4 separate regions of the Homo sapiens genome follow, and all the other regions are linked to region 4. Evidence: promoter capture Hi-C in human tissues and cell types (Jung and others, 2019). All regions are on one chromosome and are shown on one strand. The core of a region is centred on a gene start or on the middle of the fragment in contact, and the rest is flanking DNA. Distances in the headings are between cores, read along the strand shown. Region 1 overlaps L3MBTL4 (L3MBTL histone methyl-lysine binding protein 4). Region 2 overlaps L3MBTL4 (L3MBTL histone methyl-lysine binding protein 4). Region 3 overlaps L3MBTL4 (L3MBTL histone methyl-lysine binding protein 4). Region 4 holds the start of L3MBTL4 (L3MBTL histone methyl-lysine binding protein 4).

Region 1 (2,924 bases), core at 311-2,810, 170 kb before region 4:
GCAACTGTCACACAGTTTATATTCATAACAAAGGCCCAGGAAACTAGCTTTCCTTTGTGCTTTTGCCTTTTGTTGTGCAGGGAGGTTTTCTTTCCCTTATCATCTTCATATTTCCCTCTTTTTTCTTAGAATAATTTGTATTAATTTTAAAATATGATGTTTACTGAACACAATAGTATCAAATAACCTTCTCTGCTTCCCATAGGCTTTTGAAGTTTCCAAATGCCACTATTTGAAAAAGTGGTGAAGATATGCTCTAATTAGCACCAAAGTATCCTGTTAATTTGATTACTCAATCTGAAAATAAGTGGCTTTTTCAATATTTAAGAAATACATGCTTAAATAAAATTATAATTTAAAATGTGTATTTATATATAATTTATATATATTTAACATATAATTTAAATTTATAATTTTAAAATGTGAGTGCTTTTTTACTATCTGTGCTTTTCTTAGTATAAAAATACTATGAACTATGATTTACAATAACATAACAATTACAAACCCACCCTTCATATATCTATAATTAGCCAATCCTGGGATTTAGGGAGTACATACAGTATCCGGGAACTGAAAGAGGGTGTTTTTCTCTACTTCTCTTTCATCAAACCCTGATTTTTATTCTCCTTCAGCACATTCTATTTTTACAGCAACTTCACGTTTTAATAGCTCCTTTTCTTGATACAAATCTAGGAAACATATTTAACGATTGTATAACACTGCTTTCAAGATCACAGAAGTGATGTCTGGAGAAATTCAGTGAGTGGCCTGCACAGTGACACCGCCTGCCAGTGGCAGAGCCGACTTCTGGAGTTGCAATTTATTCTCCTCCACTGAAGGTTCACTAGATTTCTGGGGACACGGATGGCATAAGAAGTGTGATCTACCCAGATCCGCAGAACACCCCTTCAATTAGTACAAAATGTTACTCTCATTTTCATTACACTTAAATATATCTAGGCTGGGTACATTCAAAGCCTACTTAGAGTATCTGCTGGTTTCAAAACACCAAAAGCAAGATTAAAGGATTAACTCCCTGTAAGGGAAAACATTTTTAAAAGACACTTTCAATTTTAGTAGGCTTTAAACATAAAGTTTTTAAGTTTTCCCAACTTTTTCTCATCTAATTGAAGTATTTAATTATACTTTTAAAGGAAGAAAACCAAGATATGCCCACAAGAAACTGACGAATTAGGTGAGAAAAGTGACAGGAAGTTAACAGTTTCCATAACTTCTTAAAGGATTAAAATAAAACAGAATATATAGTGAATTTTAAGAAATTTAAGCTTGGGGGAAATTTGATTTATGCTGGGAAAGAAAATACTTACAGGACTTCTGTTTCTGAATAATTTCTTTGGAGCATTTTGCAATTTGCAGGCCTTCAAGTAATCCATCCAAACAAATTTATCTTTTCTATAACCTAAAAAAAGCACAGATTACTCAAAATACCCAAAAGATGTAATCACATGCATATTAAATATATTAGGTTGGTGCAAAAGTAAGTGCGGTTTTGGCCATTACTTTTAATGGAAAAAAAACGCAATTACTTTTGCACCAACCTCATATGGTTATTATTAGTGTCCTGCCATAAATTCAACGTCCTTAGCACCCACAAAAGATTTAAATTAAAATCTCCAAATTGTTTCACCTTTTTAAAATGTATTATGTGCAAAACTGTTGATAGTGCTTCCCCATCACGCGCATCATTCCCGATACAATTTCACATGCTCTGATACGGAGTCAGTACTCTGGTGGCCTGATGGGAGTCTCATCGCCCATTAAGGCTTTCCTGAATGGGCAAAGGGATGAGACCAGAGTTCCCGTACCTGTCCCCACTCCTGAGGAAGAGACTTTACAGAGACCATCAGAGGTCCTGAGGGTGCAGCCATCCAGGATGCCAGGCACAGAAACGCCTTCTCAATCCAATGCCCACTCCACAGCTCCAGCTTTCTGCGCCGCATCTTTACTAGTCTCCCATTAAAAACTGCTGCATCCTCCCATTCGCATGCCCTGGCGTGGCTCTCACACAGTGCTGGCCAAACAGTACAGGCTCAAAATATGGTTCTGAGCACCAGCCTTGGAACAGAAGTCAAACTCCCTGCACAGCCTTCCAGGCCTGGGAACACCACCCTCTTCGTCCCCGACCTTCCCACCTGGGCGCTTCTCTGCTGTCTCCCTGAGATGACTCATCCTCGCAAAGCGCACTCCTGCCCCGGCGCCTGCTCCTGTTCTTCCCTTGGAGGGCTTACCCAGACACCACACTGCTTCCTCTGTCATTTCACCCACGTCTCTTTGGAACATTATGTCCACAGAGAGGCCTTTCTCCCCCATGCTTTCTGAAAGAGTGTCCCTGCAGCCACCGCCATTATCCTTCTCCTCTGAAATGAAGCCCCGTGGAGATAGAGACATTGCTTTACTTGCTACTGGCCCTCAGTGCCTCACGTGGTAAGGGCTCCATAAATACCTACTGAATGAATGAGCCTGTAGCCTGTCACCAGCTTCCTCCAAACCAGCAACCTCAAGGACTCTGCCATCAGCCTCAGGGGAGGATCCCAAGGGACACCCTGAGTGGATAACTAGGAATAAAGGACTGTATACTGACTCCAGAAGTTGCCACAGACATCGAACAGTCTGACATCCAAGCCAGAGACAATGTACAGAAGTTTGCTGTGCAAAGATATGAGCCCGTCAGCATCATCCTTGACCACATCCCCACCTCACTTGCACACAGCAAATCGAAAAGGTTTTGGTCACATCTGCCTGGCCCAGACTCCTCTAGCACATAACAAAACCATGATATTTTTCATTCCCATCGAAAGAAAATAGTGATTTTTTTCATAGTTCTTTGTTTTCCGTGATTCCTAAGTCTGAAACAAATTACTTACAGTGAATCAAGTTTCCTCACCTTGCTGTATCATTGATTA
Region 2 (2,810 bases), core at 147-2,646, 130 kb before region 4:
ATGGGAAGCACTGGAAAGGTTTTAAGCAAAGGAAAGGTAGGCAGGTGGACAGGATCAGGCTCATGTACTGAAAAGAACAATGCAGCTGGCATTGTGCACCTGGATTAGGGAGTACCAAGAGCAGGCCTGGGGAGATCAACTGCGAAGTCCAAGCACGGGGTGACAGCTTGGACTCAAGTGGCACAGGGAAGACGAAAATAAGTGGACAGATGAGAAATGTTCCAGAAACAGAAGCAACAGCCTCCCTTGTCAGATTGCCCAAGGGAAGTAAAAAAAGAAAAAGGTCCCTTGAACCTCCAGGCAGCCCCTGAGGTCCTGGCTTGTGCTGCTGATGGGCAGTGCATTCACTGATCTTGGGAGCAACGCCTCCTCTCCAAGACCCACAGGTACAGGCTTTCCTAAGATGAGAGTGACGTTAAATCCAGCATGTAAGAGCCCTTTCATCCCAAAATAATTAACACATTTCTCATGCTTTCTGAAAGTTTGTATATTTTTATAATCCTATATATCTGTTAAATCTGTTCAACTTACTAAAGGCCAAGCACATGCCTCTGTCATTTTCCCATGCTCTTCACTTTCATCAGGACAGTCACAAACTATTGGCAAAAATCTATTTTCACTTAAAGTGCTTTTTGAAAAAGTTATTTTCTACACATAGCTACATCCCAAAGAGGCTTCAGGAAAGGCTTGTGAGAAACATATTGTACTATTTCTGGTTATGTAAGAAAAGAAAAACCAAATGAGTTTTTAAAGGTTTAGACTTCAACTCTGACTACTCCTCAAAGAAAAATAAGTTCTTTCCTAAGCAGGATAAAAATACTAAAGGAAATATTATTTAATTTAATTAAAACTATTTAATTCTCTAAATAGTTTTAAAAACAGTCCTATAGGAACCTCCTAAGCAAAATATGAGCATCTACACCAAAAAGAGCCTCAAAGTTATTTTAAAAATGAATAAATTCCCTATTTAAGCTGTTCCAAAAAATACCATTTATTAGTATCTCCCTAGAGTCAAACACATTACAAACATTTTCTCATTTAATCTTGACAATTTTATGGGGTAAGATATATTATCTATTACTCCCATTTCACAAGCAAGAGAATTGAGGCTTGGAAAAGCTAAGTATAATCACTTGTTGAAAGCCACAACATGCCAATTAAGTGGCAAAACCAAAATTCAGACAAGGTCTGTTTGATTCTAAGCACACACACTCTACACTTCCTTTCAAATATAAAAAGAAGTCACTCTTCAGAAGGAATAACTAAAAGTTCAGATTTCTAAAAGGTAAGATTTCTAAAAGACAAAACCACAGCTAAATAACCAAAGTCTGGGCGATCATTCTCTACGTATGTGGCCGGCAGCCACGCACTGGCCTAAACATTAGGGAAATTTCTGTGTATTGCACTATAATGCTTTAATTGTGAGTTAGATGCTGTCTTAGGGGAAAATCTTTGTTGTTGTTGTTTGGTATCATTCAATTATGCATACGAAGTCAGGAGAAAAATAAGATTCCAGGAGTGAACATTCATTTCCAAGTGAATTTTTAAGGAATTAGTCTATTCTACAAAGTGAGCTACCATACAAATACAGCTCCGTGCTTACACGCTGAAATAACAGCAATTTAGCAAAACAGCAAAGCCACATCACCAATTCCTATCTCCTTCCTGCTGCAGAGGGAAATCCACAGGGGCTCTCACGGAGCCCACATGTCAGACCCACCCGGGCGTCGAGACTCAAAACACGACCATCACATGGCTGTCCCTCCTGGGAAAGTCGAAGCCAAAGACGAGGCCAAGCAAAAGGGCCGGGAGGAGGAAAGGGCCCGCAGCTCAGCTCAGCCGGGCGAGGCGGGAGGCAGGCACTCAGCTCCCTCGCTGGCTCCCACACCGCCGCAGCGCCGCCACCTTGGAGGGGACGCACTGGCCGGCTGCGCACGCAGGCTGTTCCCAAGCCCCCGGTCGCTTTTCTTCCACATCAGGCTCTCCTCCATGTCATCTGTGCCCTTCTTCAGGGCAGTATCCTATTCTGCCTCATCCTCTCGGCCTTCTCCTTTCCCTTCTCTTTCCCTCCTGAGCAATTCTATGATCCCATGCTGAAGCCACTCTGTGCAACAGAGCAAGGTGGGAGGACATGGGTGGAGGCAGCTAGAGCGACCTTGGCCTCGAGCCCGCTGGAGGAGCCCAAACTGGTAGGAGGGCATCTGCACAGGGGCCGCCCAGCGTGGGCAGTCGGAGCCCGGAACGGGGAGGGAAAACATCCACAAGTTGGGGAGTAGGCACAGGCCTCAGAGCCTGGCAGGGCAGCCTGGCATGGGCGGGGGCGGGAATGAACCCTAAACAAGGCGTTGAGGGCACCCACCTGGAGGCTGACCCAGCGAGGGGAGTCCAGTTTCCGGAGGGCGTCGAGAGGACGGCTTCTGCGGGGCAGCCTGGTGCGGTATTAACGCCCACTCAGGGCGAGGAGGCGTCCGCAGAGGGGTGGCCTCTGCCAGCTCTTGGAGCAAAGGAGCTTGAAGATGACATCCACAGGGAGGCAGCCGGATGGTGGAGCCCACGTGGGATGAGGTGGCCATGGATGCCAGGGAGGGGTTGGTGGCAGCACTGAAGGATGGTGGGGGCACTGAACAAATAAGCAACTATACAACTAAGGGGAACAGAGCCACGTTTCTCACTGGCAAAGACTGGGATTCAAATATACAAAGAGGGAGAACTGTTACTAGAATGAATCCTGTGGGATGGGACTGGAATTGGAGGTATCACTGTTAATTCCGATTTCCATGTGAGATTTCAATATATAGAGATGCACCTAT
Region 3 (2,700 bases), core at 176-2,675, 150 kb before region 4:
TGGACAAAATCAGATGGTGAGATTAAAGTTTACCATTGCAGAGGAGGTTCAACTGTGACTTATGCCAGTGTGGTCACGAAGGCAGATGGGTTGAACTGAAAAGGGGGCACCGGTTCCTGGCATGGAGGCACCCAAGGTCTTAGGAGGTGGATGGACTGTCACATGGGCAAAGAAATGTCCCAGGGTGAGAACGGGACTGGGTGGGAGAGGGTGGAGGAGGGGAGAGAGCAGAGGGAGGTGAACAGTGTGAGCAGACACACATGCACACACACCCTATTGAGGCAGCAAGAGTGGAAATAGCAGTGTTACGACTGCATAAATCACCAAGAAGGGAGGGTTGGGCATGCAAGTAGAAATAGGGTAAGAAAGGAGTGGTTGGGAGCTGGAGTAGGCTAGGCCTGCCTGCACCCAGAGGGAGAAGTGGACGTGGCACAGGGGCACCCAGGAGGCAGAGTGCCCGGGGGGAAGCAGGTGTGCACCTGGCCACAGGGAGGAGGGAATGACGTGTTGAGCTCTTGGGAAAATTGCATAATTTGTTTTACCACAGGCAGGACTGCAAAGGCCACAGAAGAATAATTTGGGAGAGAGACAACCCATGAGAAGTCACTCAGACCAGGGTCAGAAACAGAACAGGAACAACAATGGAAAGAGGATGACACCATTGATGGGCACCTAGGTCAATTCAATGTCTTTGCTATAGTGAATAGTGCTGCAATGAACATGCAACTCCATGTGCCTTTCTTTCTCTGCAGCCTTGCAAGTATCTGTTGTTTTTTGACTTTATAATAATAAGCATTCTGGCTTGTGTGAGATGGTATCTCGTTGTGGTTTTAATTTGCATTTCTCTGATGATTAGTGATGTTGAGCATTTTTTTATGTTTGTTGGCCACTTGTATGTCTTCTTTTGAGAAGTGTCTGTTCATGTCTTTTGCCCATTTTTTATTTTTTACTTTTTCTTCTTTTTTCTTCTCCTTTCTCCTTCTCCATCTCCTTCATTCTTCTTTTGCCCATTTTTAATGGGTTAATTGGTTTTTGCTTATTGAATCTAGTTCCTTATAGATTCTGGATATATTAGATCTTTGTCATCTGCATAGTTTGTGAATATTTTCTCCCATTCTGTAGGTTGTCTCTTTACTCTGTTGATGGTTTCTTTTGCTGTGCAGAAGCCCTTTAGTTTAATTAGGTCTCAGTTGTCAAATTTTGTTTTTGCTGTAATTGCTTTTGAGGATTTAGTCATAAATTCTTTCTCAAGACCAATGCTGAGAATGGTGTCTCCTAGGTTTTCTTTTAGAACTCTTATAGTTTGAGGTCTTACATTTAAATTATTAATTCATCTTGATTTAGTTTTTGTATATGGTGAAAGGTAGGGGGTCTAGTTTTAATCTTCTGTATATGGCTAGCCAGCTATCCCAGCACCATTTATTGAATAGGGAGTCCTTTCCCCATTGCTTTTTTTCTGTCAGCTTTGTCAAAGATAAGATGGCTGTACATGTGCAGCTTTATTTCTGGGCTCTTTATTCTGTTCCATTGTTCTATGTATGTGTTTTTGTACCAGTACCATGCTGTTTGGTTTCTGTAGCCTTGCAGTATAGTCTGAAGTCAGGTAATACGATGCTTTGTTATTTTTGCTTAGGATTGCTTTCACTATTTGGGCTCTTTTTTAGTTCCTTGTGAATTTTAGAGTAAGTTTTTTTGGTTCTGTGAAAAATGACATTGGTAGTTTGATAGGAATAATGTTTAATCTATAGATTGCTTTGGGGAGTATGGCCACCTTAATGATATTGATTCTTCCCACCCATGAGCATGGAATGTTTTTCCAGTTGTTTATATGTCATCTTTGATTTCTTTTAGCCGTGTTTTGTAGTTCTCCTTGAAAAGATCTTTCACCTTCTTGGTTAAATGTATTCCTAGATATTTTTCTCTGTGTGTGCCTATTGTAATTGGGATTGTGTTCTTGATTTTCTCTCAGCTTGAACATTATTGGTGTATAGAAATGCTACTGACTTTTGTACACTGATTTTGTATCCTGAAACTTTACTGAATTCATTTATCAGTCCCAGGAGCCTTTTGGCAGAATCTTTAGGGTTTTCTAAGCATAGAATTAAGTTTTATTTTCAACATTTCGGTGTCAAAAGCTGAAGCGTTCCATCTCAGCTGGCTGACCTGAACAACATTATACTAATATTTACACAATGAAAATGAACATTAATAGTCAAAAACACAATGTCAATATAAAATTGAGTTTAGTCTGATGCTCCTTCTTGGAAAGCTGACATGAACCATCTGCCTTTTTGATTATATTAAAACCTATTTTTAACTATAGACAATGCTTATTTCATCTGAAAATACAAATTCAAGTTAGAGTAACACTGTGATCTTGAACACAAGCATCTTCTTTAGTTATTAGGGCAAATCAGACGGAATAATTGGTGAGCTTAATTCTCTCTGCATTCAGGGTCGAATGAGGTCTCATCTCACACATGGAATTCCTCATAAATTCATTACTTGTGGGCAATTAACATTCTACCTCAGATTGTTGCTGTGTTATTATGGGCATATCATATCCCAACTAGCCCACAAGATCCTAAGACACCATGTCATACGTTCTTTAGTGTTTTGGCCAGTCTTACATGGCACTTTGCACACACAGAGTCTTAAACACGTGGGCAGCTTGAGTGTTAGATTATGACTGGAGAGAAA
Region 4 (2,704 bases), core at 157-2,656:
ACCAAGGGCCAAAAACAACTCTACTGTACCCACCACCTGTTTGTCACCTTAACCTTTTTAGGTGGAATAGATTAGAAAACCGAAGAGCCACACTACACTTATTTCAGCCAAGGACTGAAACTGGAGCCTGCCACAAGCATCTTCTAGAACAGCTCCAACAGAAGGATCCAGGAGATGGGCCACCAGCAAGTCATAGTGGAGTCCAAACAAGTGTGAAGTGAGAGCGAGTCTTCAGCATGGGAATGGCCGAGTGGGTCGTGGTGACCAGCTGCCTTCCTCTGACTGTTAAGTACAGCAGTCTCAACAGTAACAATGACCAGGCCTTCCCTTTATTTAGTTCCACCTCGGGGCATTGGCGCATTAAGAATGTCCCTCTAAAGGCATATGTAAGATAAAGCACACTTCGCACTTTAACCAGTGACTAAGGGAGATCAAAAGCAGGGGACAATACCCACCCGGAATTTGCGACCTCGCGAAAACGCTCTCACCAATCCCGCAGGTAAGTGCGGCGCTGGCCCAGGTGTGCCCAGCTCGACTCGCGTCCACCTGGGACCAAGCGGGCCCAAGAAGGCCCGGAGAGCAGGCGAGGGCGACTGTGGCCGGCGCGCCCCCCGCAGTTCCAGGCGGTGGCAGGAGCCTGAGAGCCGCCGTCCCAGGCTGGCCAGGCGCCCGCCCGCCCTGCGCGCACTCCCTGGGCTCCCGCTCCCGAGGCTGGGCAGAACTCGCAGAGGAAGACAAGGGCAGAAAGCGGGTGGAGGGAGGCAGCGCTCGCCCGTCCGGGCACACGACACTTGTCGGCTGAGGGGGACACGCGGGCAGACGGGGGCGTTAGCCCCAGAGGAAACAAAAGCCAAATGCCCACCGCCGGGCGCTCGATGGCCGGAGGACTGCCTGGGGGCCCTCAGGAGTCCCGTCCCGTCCCGCTCCCCCGGTCCCAGGCTGCGCTGGCTCCAGGGCGCCCAGGTAGCCGCGCCTGGCACCCCGACCCTGCCCTCGCGGCTGACCGAGGCGCCGGGCTCTGCGGCGGCCGCGCCCGTCCAAAGTAGGCGACAAGTGAGGCAGCGCCTCTCGCGGGGAGCCCGGCGCGCGCCCCGGCGGCGAAAGAGAAAGAGAAAGAGCCTGGGCCGGGACCGGGGCTATCCCCAACCGCCACCGCCCCCACCGGCCCGGCCCTCGCCGCGGGAGTCGTGCAGGCCCCTCTACCTGCCCGGGGATGGGGCCACCCCGCGCGGCGGCGGCCGTGGGCACCCACGCGGGCTCGCGACCATCCCACGCGGGCGGCGGCGTCCTTCTTACCCCCAGCGGAGCGGCGCCTGCCCGCAACGCCGACCGAGCTACAGGCGGGGGGCGAGTCGGAGCGCGAGGTTCCGCCAGCCCAGGCTGCGGCGCCGCTGCCCCGCGGTGCCCGGCGGGAGGGGCGCGAGGGTGCACGCGCGGGGTGGGGGCGCGGGAGCCGCCCCCTGCCCGCCCCGCGCGCATGCTCCCGCCGCACCTGCCTCGCTCAGTGTTCCACACCCCGGGGAGCCGGGTGGCGCTGGGCCCGCCGAGGTCGGGGCTTTCCCATGGGAGGGAGGTGGCTGCGGCGGAATTTTCAGATGCGTCCTTCTCTGTATTCGTTCCCTGGGAAGGATTCCCCCAAATCTTGGCTACTTCCTGCCTGCCAGCTTGCTCCCTGGCAGCGAAGTCCCAGTAGCTCACCCATGCTTCATCCCAGCTCTTGGGGTTCACCGTCTGAAGGCTCTCTCCTCCGGATCCCTCTCGGTCCTGCTGCTCGCTCCGATTTTGCAACCTCCCCCACTCCCCTTTCCTGCTCTTGACTTTGCTACTCACGAGTACCTGGATACCATTTCCAAATAAAAGAATACTCTTTCCAAGTGGCAAGCAGTGTTTACTGACCCTGTTCTAACTGCTTGGAATTGAGCAGGAAACAGGAGCTGGGTAGATCCTGCCCTCATGGAACTTATGGCCTTACTGGCTAGCTTTGGCCTTTCTCAAAGCATTGTCTCCCAGTTTGGGAGGACTGTATTAAATCATTTATTTTGGCTTACAAATAAAGGTAGCTGATAATTGAAGACTATATGTTGTGACTTTTGAATGAAATGTTCTTTCATAGGACGCCTTGTGTATAAACCCTAGTATGCAAATAATAAATAGTAGGTACTAAATAAGTATTAGTTTGTTGCTTTCAGCAGGAAATTGAATCATTTAGCAGGATTAACAATGATACCATCCAAAATGATCTTTTTGGTTTGTCGTGGGCTACCATAAACAGAGAATGAAAACTTGCTTTTTAGGTGAGACTGGGCATTGTTGAAACATAATTTCGTGTCCTTACTGAAAAGAGAAATATAAACCCCTTTGCTAATGAAGTTTTTAAACTAGGAACAATGATCATAGAAATTTGTAAGTGCAAACACACGATTTGTGTTCTGTGCTCTAGTCAGTTAAGAAAAATATATTAGCCAGGTATGGCGGCTCACATCTGTAATCCCAGCACTTTGGGAGGCCGAAGAGGGCGGATCACTTGAGGTCAGGAGTTCGAGACCAGCCTGGCCAACATGGTGAAACCCTGTCTCTACTAAAAATACGAAATTAGCTGGGTGTGGTGGCGGGCGCCTGTAATCTCAACTACTCGGGAGGCTGAGACACTAGAATCGCTTGAACCTGGGAGGCAGAGGCTCCAGTGAGCTGAGATAGTACCACT

Evidence for each region. The method cuts DNA at HindIII sites, captures the fragments that hold promoters and counts their contacts. A contact is called where the count stands out against the background at its distance.
Region 1: a fragment that was not itself captured here is called in contact with the fragment with the promoter of L3MBTL4 in region 4 in 2 of the 25 tissues and cell types used here (heart left ventricle and lymphoblastoid cells).
Region 2: a contact is called between a fragment that was not itself captured here and the fragment with the promoter of L3MBTL4 in region 4, in 2 of the 25 tissues and cell types used here (lymphoblastoid cells and small bowel).
Region 3: a fragment that was not itself captured here is called in contact with the fragment with the promoter of L3MBTL4 in region 4 in 1 of the 25 tissues and cell types used here (lymphoblastoid cells).

The regions. Positions count from the first base shown.
Region 1 is chr18:6,240,030-6,242,953 of GRCh38, forward strand. It overlaps L3MBTL4 (L3MBTL histone methyl-lysine binding protein 4), which reads right to left. Exons shown (of 19, transcript NM_001330559.2): 8 at 1,329-1,420. Among named protein-coding and RNA genes, the nearest start is that of L3MBTL4-AS1, 15 kb to the right of the region's middle. The HindIII fragment of the contact is 6,749 bases long and covers 1-2,924 here.
Region 2 is chr18:6,282,655-6,285,464 of GRCh38, forward strand. All of the region lies in intron 4 of L3MBTL4 (L3MBTL histone methyl-lysine binding protein 4), which reads right to left. Among named protein-coding and RNA genes, the nearest start is that of L3MBTL4-AS1, 27 kb to the left of the region's middle. The HindIII fragment of the contact is 4,673 bases long and covers 1-2,810 here.
Region 3 is chr18:6,258,613-6,261,312 of GRCh38, forward strand. The region is part of intron 5 of L3MBTL4 (L3MBTL histone methyl-lysine binding protein 4); the gene reads right to left. L3MBTL4-AS1 (L3MBTL4 antisense RNA 1) reads left to right here. Exons shown (of 3, transcript NR_110765.1): 2 at 42-184; 3 at 548-2,322. Among named protein-coding and RNA genes, the nearest start is that of L3MBTL4-AS1, 3.2 kb to the left of the region's middle. The HindIII fragment of the contact is 5,812 bases long and covers 1-2,700 here.
Region 4 is chr18:6,413,505-6,416,208 of GRCh38, forward strand. L3MBTL4 (L3MBTL histone methyl-lysine binding protein 4) reads right to left here and starts at 1,407. Exons shown (of 19, transcript NM_001330559.2): 1 at 1,297-1,407. RefSeq lists a silencer at 910-1,449. The HindIII fragment of the contact is 7,728 bases long and covers 1-2,704 here.